Linked DNA regions of Homo sapiens: region 2 is linked to region 1. Evidence: promoter capture Hi-C in human tissues and cell types (Jung and others, 2019). All regions are on one chromosome and are shown on one strand. The core of a region is centred on a gene start or on the middle of the fragment in contact, and the rest is flanking DNA. Distances in the headings are between cores, read along the strand shown.

Region 1 (6,777 bases), core at 3,353-5,852:
GGGTCCAGCTTCATTCTTCTCCGTATGGCAATCCAGTGTTCCCAGCACTGTTTATTGAAAAGGGTGTCCTTACCCCAATGTATGTTCTTGTTGACTTTGTAAAAAACCAGTTGGATGTAAATATGTGGATTTTGTTCTAGGTTCTCTATTCTGTTTCATTTATTTCTGTGTATATTTTTATACCAGTAACATGCTGATTTGATTGCAATAGCCTTGTAGTATAACTTGAAGTTAGGTAATGTGTTGCTGTCAGAGGCATTCGAACCAGAGCGACTCCATTCTGAGGGCTAGGAAAGTGAGGCTGGGAATTGCTGGGCTTCATTCCCAGAAAGTTAGGCATACCTCGCTTCTAGGTGTTTACAGTTAAAGGAACAAATTAATAATGTTTACCAAGACCCAGACTTGGTAGTGTCCAGATATCCCAATATCTGGAGAACAAAGGCATTTCTAATTTTGCTTTAAAGATAATAATATCAATTCTTGCAAAATATAGTAATTAAGAAAATTAATCCTTTATCATGGACCCTTATAGCAGAGCACATCTGCCCATATATACAAGCATCATTGTACCTAGGGTGGATGCGTTCCTCCTCTTACTTACAGAAACATCCAACTCTTTCTGGGGAGTAGCTGTTCTTTCACCACTTTACTTTCTTAATAAACTTGCTTTTACTTTGCACTGCAGACTTGCCTTGAACTCTTTCTTGCAGGAAATTCGAAAACCCTCTCTTGGGGTCTGGATTGGGACCCCTGTCCTGTAACATTGCCTCCAACTTTGTTCTTTTTGTTTAGGATTGCTTTGGTTATTCGGGCACTTTTTTGGTTCTATATGAATTTTAGGATTGTTTTTCCTAATTATGTGAAAACTAACATTGGTATTTTGATAAGAATTGCATTGACTCTGTAGATTGCTTTGGGAAGTATAGTCATTTTAATGATATTAATTCTTTCTGAATAATTAATGAAATTAATTCTTCTGATATTAGTTCTTTCCATAAGCATGAAATGTTTTTTCCATTTGTTTGTGTCATCTGTAATTCTTTAATCAGTGTTTTATAGATTTTTTCTTTTTGTAGAGGCCTTTCACCTCCTTGGTGCAATATATTCCCATGTGGGGTGGGGTGTTATTTGGTAGCTCTCGTAAGTGGTATTGCTTTCTCGATTTGGTTCTCAGCTAGATTGTTGTTGCTGTATAGAAACACTGCTGACTTTTGTACACTGACTTTGTATCCTGAAACTCCTGAATTAATTTAACTAATCTAAGAGATTTTTGGTGGAGTCTTAAGCGTTTCTAGATGTAAGATTATATATCACTGAACAGGAATAATTTGACTTCCTCTTTTCCAATTTGCATGTCTTTTATTTCTTTCTCTTGCCTGATTGCTCTGGCCAAGACTTCCTATACTAGGGTTGAATAAGAGTGGTGAAAGTAGGCATCCTTAATCTTGTTCTAGTTTTTATCATTCAACTATTTCCCCATTCAGTATGATGTTGGCTGTGTGTTTATCATGTGTGGCTTTTATTATTTTGAGATATGTTCATTCTGTACCTAGTTTTTTGAGCTTTTATCATGAAGGATGCTGAATTTTATCAAGTGTGTTTTCTAAATCTATTGAGATGATCATATGGTTTTTATTCTTCATTCTGTTTTTGTGATGTGTTACATATATTAACTTGTGTGTGTTGGACCATTTTTGCATTCCTGGTATAAAACCTACTTTATCATGCTGTATTATCTTTTTAATGTGCGGTTGGATTCAGTTTGCTAGTGTTTTGTTGGGGATTTTCACATCCGTGTTCATCGGGGATATTGGTCTGTAGTTTTGTTGTTGTGTCCTTGTCTGTTTTTGGTATTAGGATGTTACTGGCCTCATAGAATGAGTTAGGGAGATTTCCCTTGTCTGTGATTTTTAGGGACAGTTTCAGGATTATTAGTATAGTTCTTTTTGTATGTTTGGTATAATTTTTTTAATGTTGATTTTTAAATTTTTATTTTTTTACTTAGAGATGGGATCTTGTTATGTTGGCCAGGGTGGTCTCAAACTCCTGGCCTCAAGCAATCCTCCTGTCTCAGGCTCCACAGTGCTATGATTACAGGCATGAGCCACCACATCTGGCCTATTTGGTACAATTTTGGTATAAATCTGTCTGGCCCAGAGCTTTCATTTTTGGGAATTTTTTTATTGCTGATTCAATATTGCTACTTATTATTGGTCTATTCAGGATATCTGTTTCTTCTTGGTTCAATCCTGGGAGGTTATACGTTTCAAAAAAACCTATAGGTTTTCTAGGTTGTGAGCATATAGTTGTTCATAGTAGTCTCTGATGGTATTTCTGTGGTATTGGTGTAATGTCTTCTTTTTCAATTCTGGTTTTGTTCATTTGAATCTTCTTTTTTTTCTTGGTTAGTCTAGCCAGCAGTTTATTACTTTTGTTGATATTTTCAAAGAACCAACTTTTTGTTTCGTTTATCATTTGTGTTGTTTTTTAGTCTTGATTTTGTTTAATTCTGCTCTGATCTTTGTTATTTCTTTTCTGCCAACTTTGGATTTGTTTTGTTCTTGTTTTCCTAGTTCCATGGGGTACCATGTTAGGTTGTTAATTTGTTACTTTTTTGACAGAGGCATATAATTCTATAAACTTCCCTCTTAGCATGACTTTTCCTATATCCCAGAGGTTTTGATATGTTGTGTTGCCATTTTTGTTCATTTCAAACAAAATTTTTATTTTCTGTTTTTATTTCTTCTTTGACTCAGAGATCATTCAGGAGCACATTGTTTAATTTCCATGTATTTATACAGTTTTCAAAGTTCCTCTTGGTATTGATTTTTAGTTTTATTCAGCAGTCTGAGAAGATGCTTGAAATGATTTTGACTTTAAAATTTGTCGAGACTAGTTTTGTGGCCTAACATATGGTCTACCTTGGAGAATGTTTCACGTACTGATGAGAAGAATGTATATTCTGCAGTTGTTGGGTTCTGTAAACGTCTGTTAGCTCCATTTGGTCCAAAGTCCAACTTAAGTCCAATTTTTTTGTTGATTGTCTGTCTTGATGATATATCTACTACTGTGTGTGAGGTGCTGAAGTCCCATACTATTATTGTATTGCTATCTATATCTTTCTTTAGGTCTAGAAATATTTGCTTTATTAATTTGGCCTCTCCAATGTTGGATGCATATATATTTAGTATTACTATATTATCTTGCTGAATTGATTCTGTTATCAGTATCTCATGATCTTCTTTGTCTTTTTGTACTGTTTTTTATTTAAAGTCTATTTTATCTGATACAACTATCACAACTCTTGCTGAAGCACAGTGGCGAGATCATAGGTCACTGAAGCTTCAAACTCCTGGGCTCAAGATCTTCCCACCTCAGCCTCCCGAGTAGCTGGGACTACAGGTTCAGGACACCACGCACTGCTAATTTTTAAATTTTTAGTACAGACGAGGTGTGGCTCCGTTTTCCAGGATGATGAACTCCTGGGTTCAAGCAGTCCTCCCGCTTCAGCCTCCAAAAGGGTTGGGATTATAGGCGTGAGCCCCCGCACCCTGCCTGCAAGTCTTTTAATTCACTTCAATTATCTTAGAATTTTCCTTCCCCACTTTATACATACGTACAGTGGAACTGAGGGTGTTTGTCTCAGGTAACCGATCAATGAAGTGAATAACCTGTAGGGGGCAGCAGAGCCTAAGGCCAGTGACACCCTGCTGAGGCCAGTCTGGAGCCGGCAAAGGGAGGGAAAGGGAGCTCCCCTGGGTGTTTCCCGGGCAGCCTGCCCTCTACTGCAGGTGGCCTCCAGCTGCTCAGAACAGCTGCGGAAGGAATGTGGATCCTGAGAAGCTACAGAGCCCTGGAAAGCAGGAGACTCACGTGCAGGTGCACTTTGTGTAGGGGGGTTGGGGGGAGGTTCTGTCCTTACTGGGGCTGTACCTAGAGCCTAGGGACGTTTTGCGGGGGCAGTGTTTGGTTTTTACGTGCAAAGGGTCCCGGCGACAGACTGTAATTTGTACATACAAAGATAATCTGTGAAGATCAGGCTCAGTAAGATTTGTCTGACATGTCACCTGGAGAAAGGGTTTGTGAAGGTAATAGTTTACTTAGGTTAGAAGCTTAAACTGACCCCAGGTGAGAACTTCTGCTGGTGAAAATGAAGTCTAGGGGGAGGAAGCGGTTCCATATTCAGGGGTGGGACGGGGGGAGTGTGAGGAAGTCTCATCCCCAATTCCCGCCCTGTAGAGGACACCTGCCTCTCCCTCCTGGTGCAGTCTTGCCTGGCCTGGCCTGGCCTGGATTTCCTTCCTGCTATGAGGCAAAGGAATGACTCCATTGAACACCGAGTCTGGAATTCCCAGCACACATTTCTGAAAGATCGAGGAAGCTAACAGTGCCCCTTCTAACAATAAGTAGCAAGTTTGGCTGAAATGCAGATAGCCAACGACCAGGGCGCAGGGAGTGAGCTTAGCCTTAGAAAGGCTGTAGCTAGGATTAATCAGCCGGGCTCTGCAGGGCTCCGTTACCCAGGGCTTACCCTGTCACTCAGGGCTGAGGGGCGGAGCCTGGAACCCCATCCAATCAGGGGCCCTGGGACGGGGCCCTGCCAACTGTCAATCCGGGGAAGCAGAAGGCCGCACTCAGAGTCTCTGCACTCCTTTGTTGCTGGGGTCCGTTGCGTTCTGCATCCAGTCCTTGCTGCTCCGAGAGGCCCCAGGTGCCTCCGCCACGGCTCCTGTGACGCTGTCACCTGCGCTGTGACCTGCTCCGGAGTCATAAAGAGGACGCCGGGACACCAAGAAGCAGGGAAATGGTAAAGTGCCCGGCCTAGCGTCCAGATACGTGGAAGAGGGGCTGGGTGGAACCAACAGGATCCTGCTGTGGCGGGACCCAGGCCTCCGCTCGGGCGACCCCGGCGATTGGGACCCGCGTCCCCCATGGCGTGGCTTGGCCCTCGGTCCGCTCGGCCGCCAGGTGGGGCTGGGCCCGCAGCTGGGACCCCGGGCGTCCTGTCCCGTCCCTACGCGGCGACTGCGGCCCCGGCCCCGGAGTCCTCTCTGGGCAGCTCCGCGCCCGCAGCCCGGCGTCTTCCCAGATTGTGCGGGGGCCACGGGAGGGTCATGGGGGGTCGGATGTGTCCCGCCTTTCTTCTGCTAAAAATTAAACTGAGGCTCTGTTAACAGTTAAAGAGTTTGTTGGAGCAACAGCGATTCCGAGTGAGAAACACCCGGTCATGGCTTGTGATTGAAGAAAAGGCTTTTATAAGTTGCATGAGGAGGCAAACAGGATTAAATACTTGATTAGTTACAGTGATGCTGTCGCCGTATGTGGACTTGTCAACCTGAAATAAAAGAATCAGATTCCAGTTTTTTAAAGTTTACTCAAGCAAGAAGCTGGGAATGGCCCATTTGGGAAAACACAGGATCCACGGAAATGGGCTCAGTGTTTCAAATTTAAAAGTTTAAGTTCTTGCTTATATAGGCAAGAAATTTAACAGGATTACAACGTTTTTTATACAAGGCTAGTTTGTGAGGCACAACAATTTAATCAGAGTTTGGCCCGCCCCCCTCCCCCCGCCCCCATAGAGCTTTTTTTTTTTTTTCTTTACATTTGGGTTTCATTTCCTTTCCAATTTAAAAGAGTATATTTAACATTCCAGCGTAAGGCAAGGTGATGCCAGCGTGGACAACATGGCGAGACCCCGTCTGTACAAAATATTTTAAAAAATTAGTCGGGTATGGCCGGGCGCGGTGGCTCACGTCTACAATCCCAGCACTTTGGGAGGCCGAGGCGGGCGGATGACGAGGTCAGGAATTCGAGACCATCCTGGCCAACATGGTGAAACCCCGACTCTACCAAAAATACAAAAATTAGCTGGGCGTGGTGGCACGTGCCTGTAATCCGGCTACTCGGGAGGCTGAGGCAAGACAATCGCTTGAACGCAGGAGGCGGAGGTTGCGTGAGCCGAGATGGTGCCACTGCACTCCAGCCTGGCGACAGAGCGAGACTCTGTTAAAAAAAAAAAAAATTAGTCAGGTATGATGGCCGCTTCTGTAGTTAGTCTGGAGGCTGAGGCAGGAGAATTGCTTGAGCCCAGGAGGTGAAGGCTGCATCAACGACAGTATTGAATTTACAGCTAATAGGCAAGGTGAGGGAGAGGATGGAAGTTGGTTTAGTGTCAAGAATTAGGGAAGAGATTGTCAAACGTAGGGAAAAGGGACTTGATTGGATATCAGGTTTGGGGGAATTTTCTCTAAACTCCCTTAGAAGGGTTTTTGCTACCACAGGGCTCTGCAGGAAAAGGCCAAAGTCTACTCAAGAAGAGGGGGGCTCTGAGGAGCCTGACTAGTTTGATCAAAGAGGGAGTTTTTGGGACCCCTCTCCCAGCCTAGTTCTTCCCAGGTATGACAGTAAATCCCTAAATTTCTGGTTTTCTCCTCACATTCAAAAACACCAACTTCCCCTCGCCAATTGACATCCTTATCAATTATGTGTTTCCCATGCTACATTTGAAACAGCTGCCATATTTTATCATTTTTCCACAGACAAATGAATAGCACTATTTAAAAATGTTATCAACACCTCTGAAAATAAGGAAAACTTTTTTTTTTTTTTTTTTTTTGAGACAGTCTCACTGTGTCTGTTGCCCAGGCTGGAGTGCAATGGTGCTATCTTGGCTCACTGCAACCTCGGCCTCCTGGGTTCAAGCGATTCCCCTGCCTCAGCCTCCCAAGTAGCTGGGATTACAGGCATGTGCCGACATGCCCGGCAGATTTTTGTATT
Region 2 (6,758 bases), core at 520-3,019, 890 kb after region 1:
CCTACTGGAGCCCACAATCTGATTGGGAAGATAGAAAGTTAACAATAGTGGTGAGTGCTATCAGGCCTTTTTTGTTTTTTGTTTTTTTTGGAGACAGAGTTTCGCTCTTGTTGCCCAGGCTGGAGTGCAATGGCGCGATCTCCACTCATCGCAACCTCTGCCTCCCAGTTTCAAGCAATTCTCCTGCCTCAGCCTCCCGAGTAGCTGGGATTACAGGCATGAGCCATCACGCCCGGCTAATTCTTGTATTTTTAGTAGAGATGGGGTTTCACTATGTTGGTCAGGCTAGTCTCGAACTCCTGACCTCAGGTGATCTGCCTGCCTCGGCCTCCCAAAGTGCTGGGATTACAGGTGTGAGCCACCGCGCCCAGCGCAATCAGGATTTAAACAGGATAATTTGAGTCTTTAGGTGGAGGAGTTCGGGATTTTAGTTGGAGGGATGGGTGAAGGACGCCAAGGAGGTGAGATTTGAGCCAAAGCCAGAAGGCTGAGAAAATCCCCGTATGTGAAGATGCAGAGAGGCCATTTCCTGCACATGGGAAGACAGAACAGCAAAAGCCGTGAGGCTGGAATGAGCCTACCTTGTTGGAGGAGACAGACATCCTCCTTGACATCCTCGCTTGGACCTCAAAGTTGCCCCCTCAGCTCCCTCTCCACCTATCCCTGATCTTTCTGCATCTCAGCAAACGGCCCCACCCTCCACTCATCCACTAGACTGAAAAATAGGGATTGGGGCTGGGCGCGGTGGCTCACACCTGTAATCCCAGCACTTTGGGATGCCAAGGAGGGCAGATCACCTGAGGTTAGGAGTTAGAGACCAGCCTGGACAACATGGCGAAACCCCGTCTCTACTAAAAAATACAAAAATTAGCCGGGTGTGGTGGCGCACACCCATAATCCCAGCTACTCAGGAGGCTGAGGCAGGAGAATCACTTGAACCCGGGAGGTGGAGGTTGCAGTGAGCTGAGATGGTGCCACTGCACTCCAGCCTGGGCAACAGAGCGAAACTCCGTCTCAAAAATAGATAAATAAAAATTAAAAATGAGGAGCGCAGCTTGCTGTCTCCCCTTTTCTCACACCCCACATCCATCCTTCTCAGCATGTCTGCCAACCTCTACCTATAAAGTAGGTCCGAAATCCAGGTGTTTTCTTTATCCCCATAGCCTGCAAGCTGGCTTTGGTATCCTCCAACCCATCTCCCACCTAACAGCTAAAATCAGAGAGCTTTTTTTTTTTTTTTTTTTTTTTTGAGACGGAGTCTTGCTCTGTCGCCCAGGCTGGAGTGTAGTGGTGTGATTTCGGCTCACTACAAGCTCCACCTCCCGGGTTCACGCCAGTCTCCTGCCTCAGCCTCCCAAGTAGCTGGGACTACAGGCGCCCGCCACACGCCCAGCTAATTTTTTGTATTTTTAGTAGAGACGGGGTTTCACCATGTTAGCCAGGATGGTCTTGATCTCCTGACCTCGTGATCCGCCCACCTCAGCCTCCCAAAGTGCTGGGATTACAGGCATGAGCCACCGTGCCCAGCCGCTGAGCTTTTTTTTTTGATGCAGGGTCTCACTCTGTCACCAGGGCTGGAGTGCAGTGGGACAATCACACCTCACTGCAGCTTCGACCTCCTGGCCTCAAGTGATCCTCCCACTTCAGCCTCCCCAGTAGCTGGGACTACAGGTGCATGCCACAGCTCTTTAACCATAAATCAAACATGTCACTGTTAAAACCTCCTAATGGTAGCTTCCCCCTGGGAGTAAAATCCAAGCTTTTCACAGTGGCCTTAAAGGGCACCTCTCAACCTCCCTGCTGCCATCTCCCACCATGCTGGCCCTCCCTCCCTCTCTCCTCTCCAGCTACACAGACCTCTTTGCTATTCCTGGAACCCACCAAGCTCTTTTTTGTCCAAGGAGTCAGGTACTTGCCGCTCCTTCTGCCTAGAACACCCCATTTCTCAGTTCCTTCTCCTCCTTTGGGCCTAAGTTCAAATGTCACCTCCTCTGAGAGGCCTGCCCTGACCACTCCTCTCCCCTTTACTTTGATTTTATTCTTCTTTCATATGCCCTTTCACATGTATACTCTTTCACTGAGTACATTTTCTGTTGTCCATCCCTGCCTAACTAGAAAGGCAGCTCCATGAGGGCAAGGTTTTGTCTTGTTTCATTGCTAATTTGGGTTTTTGCACAGTGCTGGGCACATATTAGAATCTCGGGGCAGGGCTCAGTGGCTTATGCCTATAATTCCTTTGGAAGGCCAAGGCAAGAGGATCGTTTGAGGCCAGGAGTTCAAGACCAGCCTGGGCAACATAGTAAGAACCATCTCTACAAAAAGTTAAAAACATAAATTAGCAGGGCACGGTGGCTCACGCCTATAATTCTAGCTAATCAGGAGGCTGAGTTGAGAGGATCACTTGAGCCCAGGAGTTTGAAGTTACAGTGAGCTATGATTGTACCACTGCACTCCAGCCTGGACGACAGAGCGAGAACCTGGGCTTAAAAAAAGAAAAGAAGGCCAGGCACGATGGCTCACACCTGTAATCCCAGCACTTTGGGAGGCCGAAGCAGGTGGATCACTTGAGGTCAGGAGTTCGAGACCAGCCTGGCCAACATGGTGAAACCCCTTCTCTACTAAAAATACAAAAATTAGCCAGGTGTGGCCGGGCGCAGTGGCTCATGCCTGTAATCCCAGCACTTTGGGAGGCTGAGGCAAGTGGATCACCTGAGATCAGGAGTTCAAGACCAGCCTGACCAACATGGTGAAACCTCATCTCTACTAAAAATACAAAAAATTAGCCGAGCATGGTGGCACATGCCTGTAATCCCAGCTACTCGAGAGGCTGAGGCAGAAGAATCGCTTGAACCCAGAAGGCGGAGGTTGCAGTGAGCCGAAATCACGCTATTGCACTCTAGCCTGGGCAACAAGAGCGAAATACCATCTCAAAAAAAAAAAAAAAAAAAAAATTAGCCGGGTGTGGTAGCATACGCCTGTAATCCCAGCTACTCAGGAGGCTGAGGCAGGAGAATCACTTGAGCCCGGGAGGTGGAGGTTGAAAGTGAGCTGAGATCGCACCACTGCACTCCAACATGGGTGATAGAGCAAGACTCTCTCTCAAAAAAAAAAAAAAAAAAAAAAAAAAGAACGAAGGCATTGGAGATTTGAGCCTGAGCAGTGGCGACAACAGGAGGAGAGGCAAGGCTGCATGTTGGAGATGGCAGAGGCTGACAAAGCAGATGTGTTGGGAACAGTTAGCAGGAGATCCAGCAGGCCAGGGGGAGGCCAGGGCCTCCTCACTCCCCCAGCCAAGGCACCTAGCCCACAGGGACCCAGGTGACACATGACACCAGAGGAGCCACAGGGCCTCCTGGGGCAGGGACCCCCTCAGCCGAGGCAGCAGCTGCTGCTGCAGCTGGTGACATTTCACTCCATGAGAGCCCTGGCTTCAAAGTCTTTGCAGGGGTAGCCGAGGGAGAAAAGGGGGTTGAAGAGGACAGGCTGGGTTGGGGAGGGAGCCACAGCAGGGTGGCCACCAGAGGACCAGGCAGCCAGAGGTGACTTGGGCCGGAGCCCTTAGCCGAGGTGTGTGGGCCTGATGGGTCCAGGAGCAGCCACCCTCATCCTGCAGCCCCCAAGGAACATAGAAGGAGGTGTGGGAACCCTCGGGCAGCCCTAGGCTCCCCCTAGGGGACTGAGGTTGGGCCTGCTGCCCACGGCCTGCCCACTTTACCCAGATGTCCAGCAAGGTGGCCATCAACAGTGACATTGGGCAGGCCCTCTGGGCAGTGGAGCAGCTCCAGATGGAGGCAGGCATCGACCAAGTGAAGGTGAGGGTCGGGGCCAGTGCAGGAGGCGGGAAGAGGTGGGAACACATGGGCCAGGGGACAGGTGCATGCCTGGGTCTGGTCTGGCTGAACCAGTTGGTCTGCAGGTGTCCAAAGATGGCCGCCGATCTGCTGAAGTTCTGCACGGAGCAGGCCAAGAATGACCCCTTCCTTGTGGGCATCCCGGCCGCCACCAACTCCTTCAAGGAGAAGAAGCCCTATGCCATCCTATGAACCCAGGGCAATGCCACCCTGTGGCCTGGGCAAACCAGGGGGCCTCAATAAACATGAAGTGAATACTTCTCAGGGCATGGCTGAGCTGGGCTGAGATGGGAGACCAGAGGGACTTTGGGCTTGCAGGGGCCAGGTGCGTACCTGGCCCAGCCTCCCTCCCTGCCTGCCCCCGGGGTCACAGCCACAGCAGCACACACACACCCTGGAGCCCCAGACGGAGAGCACGCCATCCCTCTTGCCCTCGCCAGCACCCATGGGATAGCCTGAGCAGGTACCCTTTCCCACCGTGCAGACAAATGGCCAGGATTTGAGTCATAATCTATACACCACACGCGTCACACATCACACACACACGTGACATCATAGACACAGATGCCCACGATCCTCAGGACTCTCCCTCTTCAAATGCACAGCAACAGCTGACATGCACCCCCAGCCCAGACTTGCTATCTCTCCCAGTCACTCCCATGCAGGCCCGCAGCCCCACAGCCCCAAGCAGGCACAGGCAGAACCCCAGCAGGCAAACCACACTCACACTCCAGGCCCAAGCACCAACATGTCAGGTTTATTTCTCCTTCGCTCTCAACTGAGAGCGGGGCATCCAAATCATAACAAAACCAGGGCCCAAGAGTGGGAAGCGGCCCCCTGGGTGGGCCTGAACCCCAATTTCACCCTTCCCCCGGGCATAGGGCCCAGGCCAGGACGCTCACCCGAATGTGGCTGGGACTCCTTGTGCCCTAGGCCCACGGGGCGGAGGCAGCACCAACATTGGGGATGGTCCCCCAAGAACAGAGGAGGAAGCCCAGCCTCCGGCAGGCAGTATCCACATCCACGCCCACCTGCTCAGGCCTGCAGCCTCCAGACCTCTAGCGACAGGTCTCCAGAGCCGGCCACCACCAGGTTGCCCTCAGCACAGACCTGGGAAGGGGGAGGAACATGAGGAGTCAGGGACGATGGCGCTCTGGCCAGCTGGGCAGGGCACATGGGGCAGGACCTTACCCTATTGAGCCCATTGTCATGCCTTCGGGTGCAAATGGTCCTTGGTGGGTCTGTGGGCACGTGCACCTAGTGAGGGGCAATGGGCGAGGTCAAGAGGTGTGCCCCTGGCTGATGGAGGTAGGGGAGAGGCAGGGACTGTCCTGGGGTGGGGGCTGGGCAGGAGCCTCACCCGGATGGTCTTGTCAGTGGATGTGGTGTACAAGGCTCCCACGGAGTACTGGATCCCAGTGATGGGAAAGCTGTGGCCCACATCAAAGGACTGCAGGAGGAGGATCAGGCAACACTCAGTCGAGGCTCTCCCAAGGCCCGCCCTCCCCCACACCACCAGGGGCTCGGGTAGGAAGGAAGCCCGGGGGGAGGGACAGTCAGGGGCAGGAGCTCCAGCAGACCCGGATAAGCTGGAAGCAGCCGTTGCGGTTGGCGAAGACGTGCAGCAGGCCCTGGTTGTCACCAGCCCAGAGCTGGGGTTCCTGGTAGGACATGCAGAGCAGGTAGGAGTCCAGCTACGAGAGGGACAAGGGACGGGACAGCTCAGGCCGGGCTGGGCCTGCAACAGTCCCCATCCCTCCAGGCCCCTGGGGAGGGCCCACCTGCAGACGCTGCAGGACGCTGTTGGCTCGGCGGTCCACCACCACCAGGGTGTGGTCCTCGCTGCCTGAGATGATGTGCCGGTCATCCGCCAGCAGGGTCAGCACGGGTCTGGAGTGTAGTTGCTGGTGCTTCAACAGGGCTGGGCCGGCTTCATGGGTGATGGGCCGGTGAGGAGGGATATCAGAGCCCCTCGAAGGCCCCCCCCAGCCCATGAGAGCATCCCGGGTCTCCATCCTGTCTGGCAAAACCCTCGATCTGCTCATTCCCCCACCCCACAGAGTGACCCATCTCTCCTCTCCCGCCTCAGGTAAATCCAGGCTTCCACAGGAGCCCCAGGCCTCTGCCCATCCCCGTCCACATCCCATATCCCTCCTCCGATCCCATCTACTGTTCTTAGCACAGAGCTGACCAAGGTGGTCTCAGTCTTGCATCCACCCTCAGGTTGGCCTGAAACATGCCTATCCCGCAGCCCCGCTCCAGCTCTGCCTGGACAAGGTACACTGGCCCTTCAATTAACAAAAGTAGAATGAATAAATAGGCCAGGCACAGTGGCTCACACCTGTAATCTCAGAATTTTGGGAGGCTGATATGGGCAGATCATCCGAGCCCAGGAGTTCAAGATCACCTTGGGCAACGTGGCAAGACCCCGTTCTCCATTTAAAAAAAAGAAAAATGGCCGGGCGCGGTGGCTCACATCTGTAATCCCTGCACTTTGGGAAGCTGAGGTGGGTGGATCACCTGAGGTCAGGAGTTCATGACCAGCCTGGCCAACATGGTGAAACCTTGTCTCTACTGCCTCAGCCTCTGGAGTAGCTGGGACTACAGGTAGGCGCCACCACATCCAGCATAAAAAAACGTAGTTAATCCACCACTGTTCCTATTATCATCTTCCCCCATTAACCCCATGGGGCTGCTGTGGTATTATTATCTGGATTTCAAAGATGGGGAAACCGAGGTTCAAGCTTGTCTGGAGGTCACACAGCTAGGCAGTGGGACAGCCAGAACTCTAACCCGCCCCCAGGGCTGCCCAAGCTTCACCTTCACCCGCTGCCCAAGTTGCCTGTATTGTACCAGCACAGCATGGCCACTCTGAGTGGTGAGTATTTGGTTAAGTGACTATGACCC

The links. Contacts are between HindIII fragments. The study calls those that stand out against the background at their distance.
Region 2: a contact is called between a fragment that was not itself captured here and the fragment with the promoter of ZNF491 in region 1, in 1 of the 25 tissues and cell types used here (dorsolateral prefrontal cortex).

The regions. Positions count from the first base shown.
Region 1 is chr19:11,793,921-11,800,697 of GRCh38, forward strand. It overlaps ZNF491 (zinc finger protein 491), which reads left to right and starts at 4,603. Exons shown (of 3, transcript NM_152356.4): 1 at 4,603-4,807. RefSeq lists a silencer at 3,595-3,764 and enhancers at 3,858-4,369, 4,595-4,694, 4,705-4,864. The HindIII fragment of the contact is 4,685 bases long and covers 1,575-6,259 here.
Region 2 is chr19:12,684,330-12,691,087 of GRCh38, forward strand. It overlaps GNG14 (G protein subunit gamma 14), which reads left to right and starts at 3,669. Exons shown (of 1, transcript NM_001316692.2): 1 at 3,669-4,093. The coding sequence starts at 3,720. The coding sequence ends at 4,043. It overlaps FBXW9 (F-box and WD repeat domain containing 9), which reads right to left. Exons shown (of 10, transcript NM_032301.3): 6 at 5,633-5,781; 7 at 5,432-5,545; 8 at 5,212-5,301; 9 at 5,043-5,108; 10 at 4,587-4,961. The coding sequence ends at 4,887. The HindIII fragment of the contact is 4,816 bases long and covers 1-4,177 here.